Regions from separate parts of the Homo sapiens genome. Here regions 1, 2 and 3 are each linked to region 4. The links are contacts of gene promoters, found by promoter capture Hi-C in blood cells and fetal thymus (Javierre and others, 2016). All regions are on one chromosome and are shown on one strand. Each heading gives the region's core, a stretch centred on a gene start or on the middle of the fragment in contact. The rest is flanking DNA. Distances are from core to core; before and after follow the strand shown. Region 1 has its middle 21 kb from the start of C1QTNF9B. Region 2 overlaps MIPEP (mitochondrial intermediate peptidase). Region 3 overlaps MIPEP (mitochondrial intermediate peptidase). Region 4 holds the start of SACS (sacsin molecular chaperone).

The links. The method cuts DNA at HindIII sites, captures the fragments that hold promoters and counts their contacts. A CHiCAGO score of 5 or more calls a contact.
Region 1: a contact is called between a fragment that was not itself captured here and the fragment with the promoter of SACS in region 4, in 2 of 17 cell types (fetal thymus and erythroblasts). The highest score is 6.0, in fetal thymus.
Region 2: a contact is called between a fragment that was not itself captured here and the fragment with the promoter of SACS in region 4, in 1 of 17 cell types (M1 macrophages). The highest score is 5.6, in M1 macrophages.
Region 3: a contact is called between a fragment that was not itself captured here and the fragment with the promoter of SACS in region 4, in 8 of 17 cell types (M2 macrophages, non-activated CD4 T cells, M0 macrophages and 5 more). The highest score is 9.1, in M2 macrophages.

What each region holds. Positions count from the first base shown.
Region 1 is chr13:23,916,661-23,919,838 of GRCh38, forward strand. It overlaps the pseudogene ANKRD20A19P. Among named protein-coding and RNA genes, the nearest start is that of C1QTNF9B, 21 kb to the left of the region's middle. The HindIII fragment of the contact is 2,014 bases long and covers 249-2,262 here.
Region 2 is chr13:23,842,828-23,845,880 of GRCh38, forward strand. The region is part of intron 10 of MIPEP (mitochondrial intermediate peptidase); the gene reads right to left. Among named protein-coding and RNA genes, the nearest start is that of PCOTH, 45 kb to the right of the region's middle. The HindIII fragment of the contact is 1,652 bases long and covers 575-2,226 here.
Region 3 is chr13:23,862,865-23,866,363 of GRCh38, forward strand. MIPEP (mitochondrial intermediate peptidase) reads right to left here. Exons shown (of 19, transcript NM_005932.4): 8 at 1,277-1,325. Among named protein-coding and RNA genes, the nearest start is that of PCOTH, 24 kb to the right of the region's middle. RefSeq lists an enhancer at 3,257-3,396. The HindIII fragment of the contact is 3,713 bases long and covers 1-3,457 here.
Region 4 is chr13:23,432,434-23,435,779 of GRCh38, forward strand. It overlaps SACS (sacsin molecular chaperone), which reads right to left and starts at 1,269. Exons shown (of 10, transcript NM_014363.6): 1 at 1,182-1,269. RefSeq lists an enhancer at 521-1,088. The HindIII fragment of the contact is 4,074 bases long and covers 1-1,936 here.

The sequences.
Region 1 (3,178 bases), core at 6-2,505, 480 kb after region 4:
CCAAATAAAGAAATCCAGAGAACACCTGTGAGATACTATGCAAAACAAATATCATCAAGGCATATAGTCATTGGACTGTCCATGGTCAATGCTAAAGAAAAACATTTTAAAGGCTGAGAAGGTAAACCTGTCAGGCTAATAGTGGACTTCTCAGCTGAAACGTTGCAAGCCACGAGGGATGGGGGCCTATTTTCAGCATTCATAAATAAAAGAAATTCCAACCAAGAATTAAATATCCTACCAAACTAAGCTTCATAACTGAAAGAGAAATAAAATCTTTTCCAGACAAGCAAGTGTTAAGGGAATTTGTTACCATTAGACAAGACTTACAAGAGATCCCTAAAGGACTTCTAAACATGGAAATGAAAGAATGATACCTGCTACCACAAAAGCATAGTTAATTTACGTAGCTCACAGACCCTATAAAGTAACCATGCAATAAAAACTACATAGCAACCAGCTATCAACTTTACTATAGGACCAAAACTTCACATATCAATATTAACCTTTAATATCAACAGTCCAAATGCCTCCATTTAAAAGGCACAGTGTAGCAAATTGGATAAAAAAAAATCGAGACCCATCTCTTTGTTGTCTTCAAGAGATCCGTCTCACACATAATGACACCCATAGGCTTGAAGTAAAGGGTTGGTGAAAGAGCTATTATGCAAACAGAACACCAAAAAGAGCAGGGGTGATGATTCTTAGATAAAACAGACTTTAAAACAACAGCAGTAAGAAAGGACAAAAAAAGGCATTACATAATGATAAAAGGTTTAATTCAACAAGGAGACTTAACTGTTCTAAATGTATATGCACCCAACACTGGAGCACCCACATTCATAAAATGAGAAGTTCTAGACCTACAAAAAGACTTGTACAGCCACATAATCAATAGTGGAGGACTTCAACACCCCACTGACAGCATTAGATCATCAAGGCAGGAAACTAACAAATTCTAGACCAAAATTGTACACCTGATCAACCGAACCTAATAGACATCTACAGAGTACTCAGTTCATCAACCCCAGAATATACATGTTTCTTTTCTGCACACAGAACATTCTCCAAGATCAACCACATTTTTGGTCATAAAGGAAGTCTCAATAAATTAGAAAAATACAAATCATGCCAATGATACTTTCTGATCACAATGGAATAAAAATAGAAATTAGTACCAAGATAATCTCTCAAAACTACATGATTATATGAAAATGAAAAAACCTGCTCCTGAATGACTTTTGGGTAAACAACAAAATTAAGGCAGAAATAAAAAAAAAATCCATGCAATAAATTATAACAAAGACACAATATACCAAAATCAGTGGGATACAGCAAAAGCAGTATTAAGAGGAAAGTTTGTAGCCCTAAATACCTACATCAAAAAGTTAGAAAGATCTCAAATTAACAATTGAACATCACACCTAGAGGAACTAGGAAAATAAGAACAAACTAGCCCCAAAGCTACCAGAAGAAAAGAAAGAAGAGCAAAACTGAATGCAAATGGAAACCCAAAAATCCATACAAATAATTAATGAAACCACAAGTTGGGTCTTTGAAAGGATAGAAAATCAACAGACAACCAGCTAGCTGAACAAACAGAAAAAGAAGATCCAAACCAGCACAATCAGAAATGACAAAGATGACATTACAACCAATCCCACAGAAATGCAAAAGATTCTCAGCAACGATTATGAATACCTCTATGCAAACAAACTAAAAAATCTACAGGAAATGGGTACATTCCTGGGAACCCACAACCTCCTAAGACTGAATCAGGAAGAAATTGAAACCCTGAACAAACCAATATTGAGTTCCATAATTGAATCAGTAATTTAAAAAACTTAAAAACTCCAACCAAAAAAAGCCACAAACTTGACGGATTCACAGCTGAATTCTACCAGATGTACAAAGAAGAGCTGGTGCCAATTCTGCTGAACCTAATCCCAAAAAAATCAAGGAGGTGGGACTCCTCCCTAAATCAATCTACAAAGACAGTGTCATCCTGTTACCAAAATCTTGCAAAGACATAGCTATACAAGAAAACTACAGGTCAATATCCCTGATGAACATAGATGCAAAAATCCTCAAACAAATACTAATGAATGCAGCAGCAAATCAAGAAGTTAATTCTCCATGATCAAGTAGGCTGTATTCCTGAGGTGCAAGGTTAGTTCAACAAATGTTAATCAATAAATGTGATTCACCACATAAACAGGATTAAAACAAGAAACCACAGTTTATCTCCATAGATGTGGACAAAGCTTTTGATACAATCCAACATGCTTTCATGATAAAACCCCTCAACAATCTAGACATCAAAGGAACAAACCTCAAAATATTAAGAGCTATCTATGACAGACTTATAGCCATCATCATGCTGAATGGGCAAAAGCTGGAAGCATTCCCCTTGAGAGTAAGACAAGGATATCATCTCTCACCACTCCTATTCAACATAGTACTGTAAGTCCTAGCCAGAGCAATCAGGCAAGAGAAAGAAATTAAAGGCATCCATATAGGAAAAGAGGAAGTCAAACTCTCTTCACTGATGATATGATTCTATACCTAGAGAACCCTGAAGACTCTGCTAAAAGGCTCCTGGAACTGTTCAATGATTTTAATTTCAGCAAAGTTTCAGGATACAAAATCAATGTACAAAAATTAGTAGCATTTATATATACCAGTAACATTCAAGCTCAGAGCCAAATCAAGAATGCAATCCCATTTACGATGTCCATTAAAAAATACTTAGGAATACATCTAACTGAGGAAGTTAATATCTCTACTAAGAGAACTACAAAACATTGCTGAAAGAAATCAGAGATGACACAAATAAATGGGAAAACATTCATGCTCATGGATTGGAAGAATCACTATTGCCCAAAACAATCTATAAGTTCAATGCTATTTCTATCAAACTACCAATGCCATTTTTCACAGAATTAGGAAAAAACTGTTCTAATCCTCATATGGAACCGAGAAAGAGCCCATATAGCCGAAGAAGTCCTAAGCAAAAAGAACAAAGTTTAAGGCATTACATGACCCGACTTTGTACTATATCCTATCAGGCTACATTAACCAGAACAACATGATACCGGCACAAAAATAGACACATAGACCACTGGAACAGTATAGAGACCCAAGAAATAAAGATGCACACCTCTAATCATCTGATCTA
Region 2 (3,053 bases), core at 151-2,650, 410 kb after region 4:
TGTGGCTCACGCCTATAATCCCAGCACTTTGGGAGGCTGAGGTGGGTGGATCATGAGGTCAGGAGTTCAAGACCAGTTTGGCCAACATGGTGAAACCCCGTCTCTACTAAAAGTACAAAAATTAGCCGGGTGTGGTGGCGGGTGCCTGTAATCCCAGCTACTCGGGAGGCTGAGGCAGAGAATTGCTTGAACCCAGGAGGCGGAGGTTGAGTGAGCCACGATTGTGCCACTGCACTCCAGCCTGGGCGACAGAGCAAGACTCTCCATCTCAAAAAAAAAAAAAAAAAAAAAAGGAATCAGACTTTGCAAGGCAGGGCTGGGATGAGGAATGGAAAATGGGAATCATAATAGGAATTCTAGGCAGAAGCGACAGTATAACTAAAGTATGATGGCATAAAATAGCCTGGTAACTTCTAGAAAGGATGTGGTTAAAGATGAAGCAGTTACCAATGCAGGGATAAATGTAGAAAGAATGGGAGCGGAGTCTGGAAAAGGCAGGCAGGGGCCAGAAAACAGAGGGCCTGGTCCACTAAGCTGAGGAACTGGGACCATGCACCATAGGCCATGGCCTCTAAGCTTCCTCACCAATGCACACTAAAATAACTTTTGAGTATTCAACCTTCTATTAGTACACTCATAAAGTATATGCATGTGGTATTGTTTTATCACATTGCAAAAAGAAAAGCAGACATTTTTATAAGTTGAGATAAAGAAAAATAAATATACATAGAATTTCTAATATTTTATGACTACACTCTCAATGAATTGCTTACAGATGCCATTTGGGAGACAGCTTCTGTAGGCCATAGGGGAGCATCTGATGTTTTCTGGAATGCTGCACAGTGGACAGCATGGAGGGTGGAATGCAGGAGGCAGGGAGGGCTGACAGGAGGACAGACTTCCAGGCTTCAGAGGGTGAACTCTGACAGAGGGCAGTGGGGTCAGGGATGAATGTGTTTTTCCTTTGAGATGCAAACGTCTCAGGACTGTGTGAGTGATTGGATTTGGAGGGTGATGAGAAAGACAGAACAATCTAGAATAACACTCAGGTTTCTGGCTTGGACAAATAAGTGGATGGTAGAGTCACTGAATCAGCCGGCACAATGAACACAAAAAAGGAAGAGGGGAATCTGGGTGTGTTTGTGGGAGAAGAGAGGAGGGTGAGGTGCAATGATGGGAGGAGGATGGAGGGCTCACAGAAAATAAACTCCATTTTGGAGGAACCGACTGTGAAGTGCCCATGAGATACCAGACACTCAGGACCCAAAGCTAAGGAGAACAAGGAGACTTCACTGTACAGATATTAGAGCCATAGAGGGAGACAGGGCCATTAGGGAAGGGCGATGCGGGCAGAGAAGGTAAAGGGCAGACCCCTGAACTACCAGAGGGAGGGGTGGGAAGGAAGACACAGAACAGTTCAGAGGTACTGAAGAACTGAGAGAAAGGAGTGCATGGAAAGAGGGGAGAAAATAAACTATAAAAGGAAGTGGTCCAGGCTTGAGGTTTCCACTCCTGCACATGAGGAGGTTGAAAGTCACCACTCCATCCTAACAAGCAGGAAGCTGAACAAGCTGAAAATCAAGAATCTTCTTAGATTCAGCAGAGAATCAAGGCCACAGAGCAAACTGCTGCCCCCAAAACTGGAAAGAAAGGCAGGCAGCCATAGAGAATCACAGCTTACCAGAGCAGAAACCTCCCATAGAACCTACTACCAAGGCAAGAAAGTTTAAACTATAATTGGTTATAAAAAGCAATTCATTTTTTTGTTTCCAGACAATAAAAACACAAAAATAAAGGAGAATAAAAAGAAACTTTACATATTAAAATTCTACCCTTCTTAAGATTATAATGAACATTTATTTTTATGGAAAAGAAACACAGTAAAGCTAGTAACACAGCTTATTTTACTAAACTATAACCTAAAAATATTTACTGTCTTATCCAATGACCATGACAATCATTATGTGTTGGGCAAAATTCAAGGAAACAATTTATCTTGGAAAAAAAATTTAAGTATAGAATATAAGTTCATATAATATTACAATATTACCCTAAAATGATTGGGAACAAATGAATTTCTAAACTGCCTGTTTTAAAATAAAAACACCTCAAAAATATTAACAATGGGCAAAAAGTATACTGTCTTGTCCCCTGGCTCACTATGCCCACCCCCAGAGGTAAATATCTTGTGTATCCTTCCAGGCATTTCCTATGCACACTCTTAGAAGCTTATGCATGTAAACTTTATGTATATATAAACCTACTTTGGCACAAATAGAATCATACCATTCACACTATCTCGCAATTTTATTTAACATAAAAATATATCAATGATATGTATTTTTACACATATATTTTTCATAAAAATATAACTTGGAATACTTTCCAGTTTAGTATATAAAGCTCTAGCCTGTTTTCTTTCATGGGTGTAGTCATCCACAGCAAACACATGACAAAGCTCATTTCATGCATCTCCTGTTGTGTTGTACATGAGCAGAGGAGGCAAGGTCAATGAGAGCCTGAAGCATCAATGGGGGAAGCATCCGACCACTGACATCGTTTGGAATTTCCCACATATGGGGATATTAAAGGAACCCAGACTTTTCATCAGTTTTATTATTGATTTTAACTTTTTTACAGAAAATGCATCCCGTTAGGCCACACCCAGAGCTCACTTCCCTGCCTTGGTCTGCCTCTGTTCCTTTTAACTGACGGTAAGCTGCTGTTAGTTTATCTGTTAAAGTGATGCCATAGTGAAATGTCCTTGTCACACCCACACAAGCCTATCCATAAGATAAACTGAAGAAATGGCATTGCTGCAAAGAGTACAAGATCTTAAGTTTTTTGATATGTATTTCCAAATTATCCTCTAAAAAAAGCTGTTTCTAACTTACATTCCTACCTGCAGTGTATGAAAATACCTAGTGCTCTCACTCTCGCCAATGTAATTCTGTTACGTTTCTTTTAATGCTTCCTTTATTTTCCTTCTTTAGCTATGTGTGCTGCATTTCCTTTTTCTTTCTAATAATTTGATATATTAGTGATATTTATAG
Region 3 (3,499 bases), core at 351-2,850, 430 kb after region 4:
AAATGATGAAGCTATGCTTGCTCTAAAATCTATAGCTATGTAGAGAAAGACTACTAACACTTAACTAAGTAAAGCAGGATAAATCCTCAATAAGTGCATAACTAACCCTCTTTCTTTATTGTATCAAAGACACAGTGGTTCACCAGGATCATTAAAAGAAAATTTTAGAATTTATAAACATAATCCAAACTAGAGAAGAATGAGTTCTAAGGCATGAGTTTATAGTCCAAAACAGAAATGTGAGCCAAGATCCAATGTGTTGGTGTAGCCACAACAGGCAAACAAAATTTTAGACAGCATTACAAGAGAAAAAGAGAAAACATCATCCTTTTTTACAAACGGTGACTGCTTCTTCCTAGAATCCTTAGTACCTAAAGGTGTGCTGCCTCTCAACTAAGGCCTAGAAGAGGGCCAGTGAAGGGCAAGTGTATGATCGAAGGCACTGAGCAGGGGAGGGGCAGGGGAGGCAGGAATACAGGTTGAGCCTCCCTAATCTGAAAATCTGAAACTTTCTCAGCACTGACATGATGGTACAAGTGGAAAATTCCACATGTGATGTCATGTGATAGGTTGCAGCCAAAACTTTGTTTCAGGCACAAAATTATTAAAAACACTGTATAAAATTATCTTCAGGCTATGTGTATAAGGTGTATATGAAACATAAATGAATTTCGTGTTTAGACTTGGGTCCCATCCCCAAGATATCTCATTATGTATATGCAAATATTCCAAATTCCCCCCAAAAAATGAAATCCAAAACATGTGTGGTCCCAAGCATTTCAGATAAGGGACACTCAACTTGTTATAACAAACGGACACACCAAAGGCAGTAGAACACTTCAGCTTGAAATTACAAATGTTGAGATAGAACATCCTTAAAATACTACACAAAATTAAAAAGACACCACATCCATGAGCCTCCTGTATTTAGGCCAAAAGAAGAGAAATACTACTTTATGAACTTGTCATAAAATTCATGGTACAAGTTAAAATAAATAGTTTCAAAAACATTTTGGTAAAGATTTTTAAAGTGCAAATGAAAGATGAATTTCTAAAAACAATTGTTTAATGAAAGGGGACAGCTTATGTTTTCAAGAATGGCACATAAGGAAGACAACTATGGCCTTTTAAAGTATGTCTCATAGTGAGACAGGTCTGGTCCAATATGCCAAAACTTATATTCTAGGTCACTTCCTAATTTTTTATAAATCAAGTCTTCTTTAAAAAGACTAAATAACATATAACCAAAAAACTAAATAGTAGAATAAAAACTAACCTTTCAGAAAGTTTGTCAGATAGTTTTTCAAGGAACTGCATGACAGTCTCTAAAACGAAATCCAAAAGAAAATATCTTCAATTATGTGAAATAAAATGAACATATCTGTTAAAATTATTATGTGATGATCATAATCTATATCCCACAATTCCCTTAAAGTGATGATTTTCAAAGGGAAGTAGAGCTACCAACATATACCAAACATATAGTAAATGCTTCTAGGTGATGACGATCTTTTAATCAGAAAAAAATTAAATTGGCATACTAATAATCCACAGCGTCAGATTCTATCCCAAAATTAAAAGAGTTAATGGGACCAGGTGGCTCATGCCTGTAATCCTAGTACTTTGGGAGGCTGAGGGCAGGGGGTGGATCACCTGAGGTCAGGAGTTCAAGACCAGCAAGGCCAACAGGCTGAAACCCCGTCTCTACCAAAAATACAAAAATTAGCCAGGCGTGGTGGTGCATGCCTATAGTCCCAGCTACTTGGGAGGCTAAGGCAGGAGAATAGCTTGAACCCAGGAGGTAGAGACTATAGTGAGCCCAGACTGTGCCACTGTACTCCAGCCTGGGCAAGAAAGTGAGACTCCATCTCAAAAAAAAAAAAAAAAAGAGTTAATGGGAGGCTAAAGAAAAAAGTACAAAATTTCAAGGTGTTTCTATCTATTCATATGTGTAAGAAAAAAAAGTTCTGAGACATGTCTGACGTTTTCAGAGTTTTAAAGAGATATCTAGACTGCTTTGTTCATAAAAATAGGTGCAGTGTAGAAGTATAATTCCCTGAAATAAATTTTTTAAGATCAATGTTTTTCTTGATAACAATTTTATTGTTATATACAACTGTAGAATAATCTATTCAGGATAAATATGAAAAAAATAGCAAAATAAGAAAAATAAATATTAACTTCTGATAGAATTTTTAAAGTATTTTTATTAAAATACTTCTGCCATAGTTGTCATAATTTACAAACCCATAAAGGCAGTGCAGTAGAATTATCACCGTTTCCCACAAGAGGAAATGTTTTGCAAGTATTTCTGAATGTAGCACTTTTTATCACTGACTTATGTGTACAGAGCTTTCATATGTATTTTAGTTCACCACAAACACTATGTTTGTATTTTCCAGATAATCTTTTATACAGTTTTAAGTTTCCTGCCCTCTCTTCAATTTAAGTTATCTCCTTTTGAGTGAAATAAAAGACTAAGGAAATAAATAATGGTGGTTAACCTAAACCCAAACCATGAGGTTTCTTGCCACTGTCAATACTTAACAAGTCCTGTGTATACGAATTCTGAAAACACTGGCTCATGTGCCATATGAAACAACAATAGGAATTTTTGGGGAACAAAGACATTATTTAGTCAACAATGAAATCTCATTTTAGGATTATATTCCAGGTACCATACCAAACTGTTTTCAAATGAATCCCTATGTATGCTTGTATACGTTTTATTTCTTAATAACCGTGTTTTAACATTCACCCATCTTATTCTTCCAGTCATTTTACATGTGAAGAATCTGCCTCAATTAATTTTTTTTTTTTTTTGAGATGGAGTCTTGCTCTGTTGCCCAGGCTGGAGTGCAGAAGTCCCATCTCGGCTCACTGCAACCTCTGCCTCCCAGGGTTCAATCGATTCTCCTGTCTCAGCTTCCTGAGTAGCTGGGATTACAGGCACCCGCCACCGCGCCCAATTAATTTTTGTATTTTTAGTAGAGATGGGGTTTCACCATGTTGGCCAGGCTGTTCTTGAACTCCTGACCTCAAGTGATCTGCCTGCCTCAGCCTCCCAAAGTGCTGAGATTACAGGCATGAGACACCACATCTGGCCTGCCTCAATTAGTGTCCCCAGAGAATTGTCATATTAAGATTCAGTTTGAAACCCCCCACTAAGTGCCTCACCGCAGTTACCTCCTCATTCACTAGCCACATGAATGCCCGCCTTAGCCTCAGTCAGCCTCTCTGTCTTCCTTCTGCTCTGCTGAGGACTCACTCCATCACTGTGCATGACAGTTTCATTTCCCTCAGGGCGCCTTCCACAGCCACAGATGCATCTGACAAATGCCCCGAGCTCCTAAATCCCATGGCATTGTTTTGTCTGTACTACTCCATCGACACCGAAAACGTGCCAACCTCTATTATTATTTATCTTTTTATATGCATATATCCAGCTCCTCAACTAAGCTTTAAATCCTCAAGGACCCAGAGCACATCTTACGTGATG
Region 4 (3,346 bases), core at 19-2,518:
AGGGACGGCTAAGGAGGATAGAGGAAAGGAAACTGGGGATCGTTGTCACAGCCCAAAGTGAGGCTTCAGGGCAAGATTAGGGAAGGCAGTCTGGATGGTCATAAGTAAAACTACTGGGACATCATGACCCTGCATTAACGTAGAATGAGTCTGGTTATCAATGGGCAGCTTAAGAAAAACAGAATGGCAAATCTACTTGTCATGTGACAAATAAAATGGGATTGTCAATTATTTATTATTATTATTATTATTTTCATCCATGACCTGTGAATCAATTACTTTTATCTGCACTGATGGAGAAATGAAGAGTTCCCCTTCAAAATAACTTCAGAGCAGCTTGCGCTTGGGAAGCACGTGGATTCAACCTGGCTTCTGCCTTTTACTTAAGCGGAATGGGCTTTATCCATCTTCAGGGGCAGAGAGAATTAAGATTAAAGCCAAAACAATTGATATGTTTTAATAGAAACAAATCCAGTCCTCTTCTCTGAGGTATTGACCTCGTTTTAAGGAAGAAAAAAAGACAGCGAGAGAGAGGTTTTGTTGCTAAAGCTGGAATACTCTTTCAAAGAATCTAATGATCGCTTATTAGAATAAAATTAAATATGTGAAATATTTTTTAACTAAAAGCAGGATTTTCAAATATTATATAAGATAACCATAACATATGGCATTGTTTGAAGGCATGCTGTTTAAAGTGAGAGCAATTCTGCAAATTAACCGTAAGCTACTTTGAGAATCCCATCTTATTGTTCAATAAGACTCTGGACCCCACGCTGTGTTACTGCAACAGCTCCATTGTGGCGGTGCCTGGCAACCCGGGTGGAAATTAAAATGACAAAGCGGCTAGTCCAGCATCTTGACCGCGGCAGATCTCTCTAGTCACCCTGCAGCCGCTCCTCACCCACAAATTCACAAGCAGCCAACCCAAACTGTACATTTTCAGAAGAGCTCATTACTCACAGCTGTACAGCACGCTGAAGGCCCTCTCGTCTCTGTCCTCTCCGAAGGCGGGTATGTTAAAGGAAAGTGGCCCCTTACCTCCCCCAAGCAGCTGCAGTGGCCGAGCCCTGGTTTCCCAAGGCTCAGGGGACGGATGGCCAACAACACCATGGAGCCTGCCCGTCCCCAGGCCGCTCCTGCAGCTGCCCTCGCTGGCCACCCAGCTGGAACCTTGGACTTACTGGGGGCTGTGGGCATCAGGGTCTCTCGGCCTTTGTTTTCCTCCAGTGCCATCAGCAGTTCCCAGCGTGACTGTCCCGCAGCCGCACTGGGTCCAGGCGGCTCCTGCCGCAGTCAGTCGCTCCCCCTACCCAGCAGCCTTTTTTTTTCTTCTTAAAGAGACAGGACTGTCATCAACCTTAGGTGTCAATAATGCTGCAAGTGCAGCATTGTCGTTCATTGTGGGGGTGACAACCAACCACACGTTTTTGTTCTCTTCACTTGCAAAGGCTAATTTTTAGCAGTAGGTATGGCTAACAGAAGACTGGCTCTATTAAACACCAGTTGTGTGACCTTAGACAAGTCACTCATGGGTCTCGAGTACCTCATGGGAAATGAAGACCTGTGACCTGGTAATGTTGTAGCTCACAATCTGCTTTTTGTATGTTATTTGGAGTTGTTTATGAGGTTCCAATGGTTAAAAAAAAAAGCATTCACTCAAAATGTGTGGTAAACTGTGAAATGCTATACAATTGATCCTGTTCTAAGTTGAAATTGCTAGTCTCAATTTAATAATACAAAATATTGTAACTCTATTTTCTTGCTTCCTCTGATGGGGTATGTGAAATACCACCAGCATTTATTTCATTTCGGCGCACAGCTATCCTGCCACTGGCCTGGGTACATCATATTCCTCATGATAGTCTCCTAGTAGAACTGCCTGCTTTATCCATATAAATCTAGAATTTTGGCTTATCTGGAAATACTGGATCTCGGAAGCTTCTTATTGCTTCGTTCCTGCGGAAAATTCCTCTTAAGTCAGTTCAAACAACTCCAGACCTGAAAAGGCTCAAATGATCTCTCCTGGGAGAAGACCAAAGCAAGCCCCAAATGTCAGCAGCAACTGGGGAAGGAGAGCCCCTGCTTCTTGTACCTGGCCCTGCACTGGTCTGACCCAGAAGATGCCACATCTAATGGTGTCTCCTTCACATCCTAGACTCACAGATTTGTGTACATATTATTTCCTGGGAGATAGGTGGGAGACCTGTTCTAACAAAAGGACTGAATAATCACAAACAAAGCACATTTCTATTGGGGAGAAATGGTGTCTTGCAGGGCCTTTTCATTGAGCTCTCACTGTAGCACCGTGTGGACCAACAGGCCCTCGGTGGCATGCGCCTGTGGAGTGAGGCTGCCTCTCTGAGGCTACCACCATTCTTACATGGTTCAGTTGTAATCAGTTTAATTCAGCACACAAATATTGAGCCCTTGCTTGTTCCTGGCATCAGCTAGACACCGTAGACTAAACGGTGAATACCCAGTATGTTGCTCCCCCAGCAGGCTCTTCTACTCACAGCTGTAAACCATTACACCCCCAAAGGGAAAAGTTATAAATAACTACATATATATAAACTATATATATAATATATATGTATAGTTTTCAGAGAGGTTAGACGATTTTGCCTACCTACTCACACTACATAAAAGTATCCAGTGAAATATTGATTATTCAGAAATAGTGTTGCTTAGCCAGGTGTGGTGGTACATGCCTGTAGTCCTAGCAACTCAGGAGGCTGAGGAAGGAGGATTGCTTGAGGCCGGGAGTTTGAGACCAGCCTGAGCAACATAGCAAGACCTCAGGTTGGGCGCAATGGCTCACGCCTGTAATCCCAACACTTTGGGAGGCCGAGGTGGGTGGATCACTTGAGGCCAGGAGTTCAAGACCAGCCTGGCCAACATGATGAAACCCCATCTCTACTAAAAATACAAAAATTAGCTGGGTGCAGTGGTGTGCACCTGTAATCTCAGATACTTGGAGGCTAAGGCAGGAGAATTGCTTGCACCTGGGAGGCAGAGGTTGCAGTGAGCTGAGATTGTGCCACTGCACTCCAACCTAAACAACAGAGTGAGACCCTGTCCCAAAAAAACAAAAACAAACATAGCAAGACTTCATCTCTACAAAAATTAAAAAATTAAGCAGGCATTGGTCGTGCATGCCTGCAGTCCTAGCTACTCGGGAGACTGAGGTGGGAGGATCACTTGAGCCCAGGAGTTTAAGGTTACAGTGAGCTATGATTGCACCACTGCACACCAGCCTGGGCGACAGAGTAGACCTCATCTCTAAAATTAAAAAAAAAAAAGACAAAAAATAGTGTTGCAATGTAGAAGTCAAAGCTTAAATACCCTT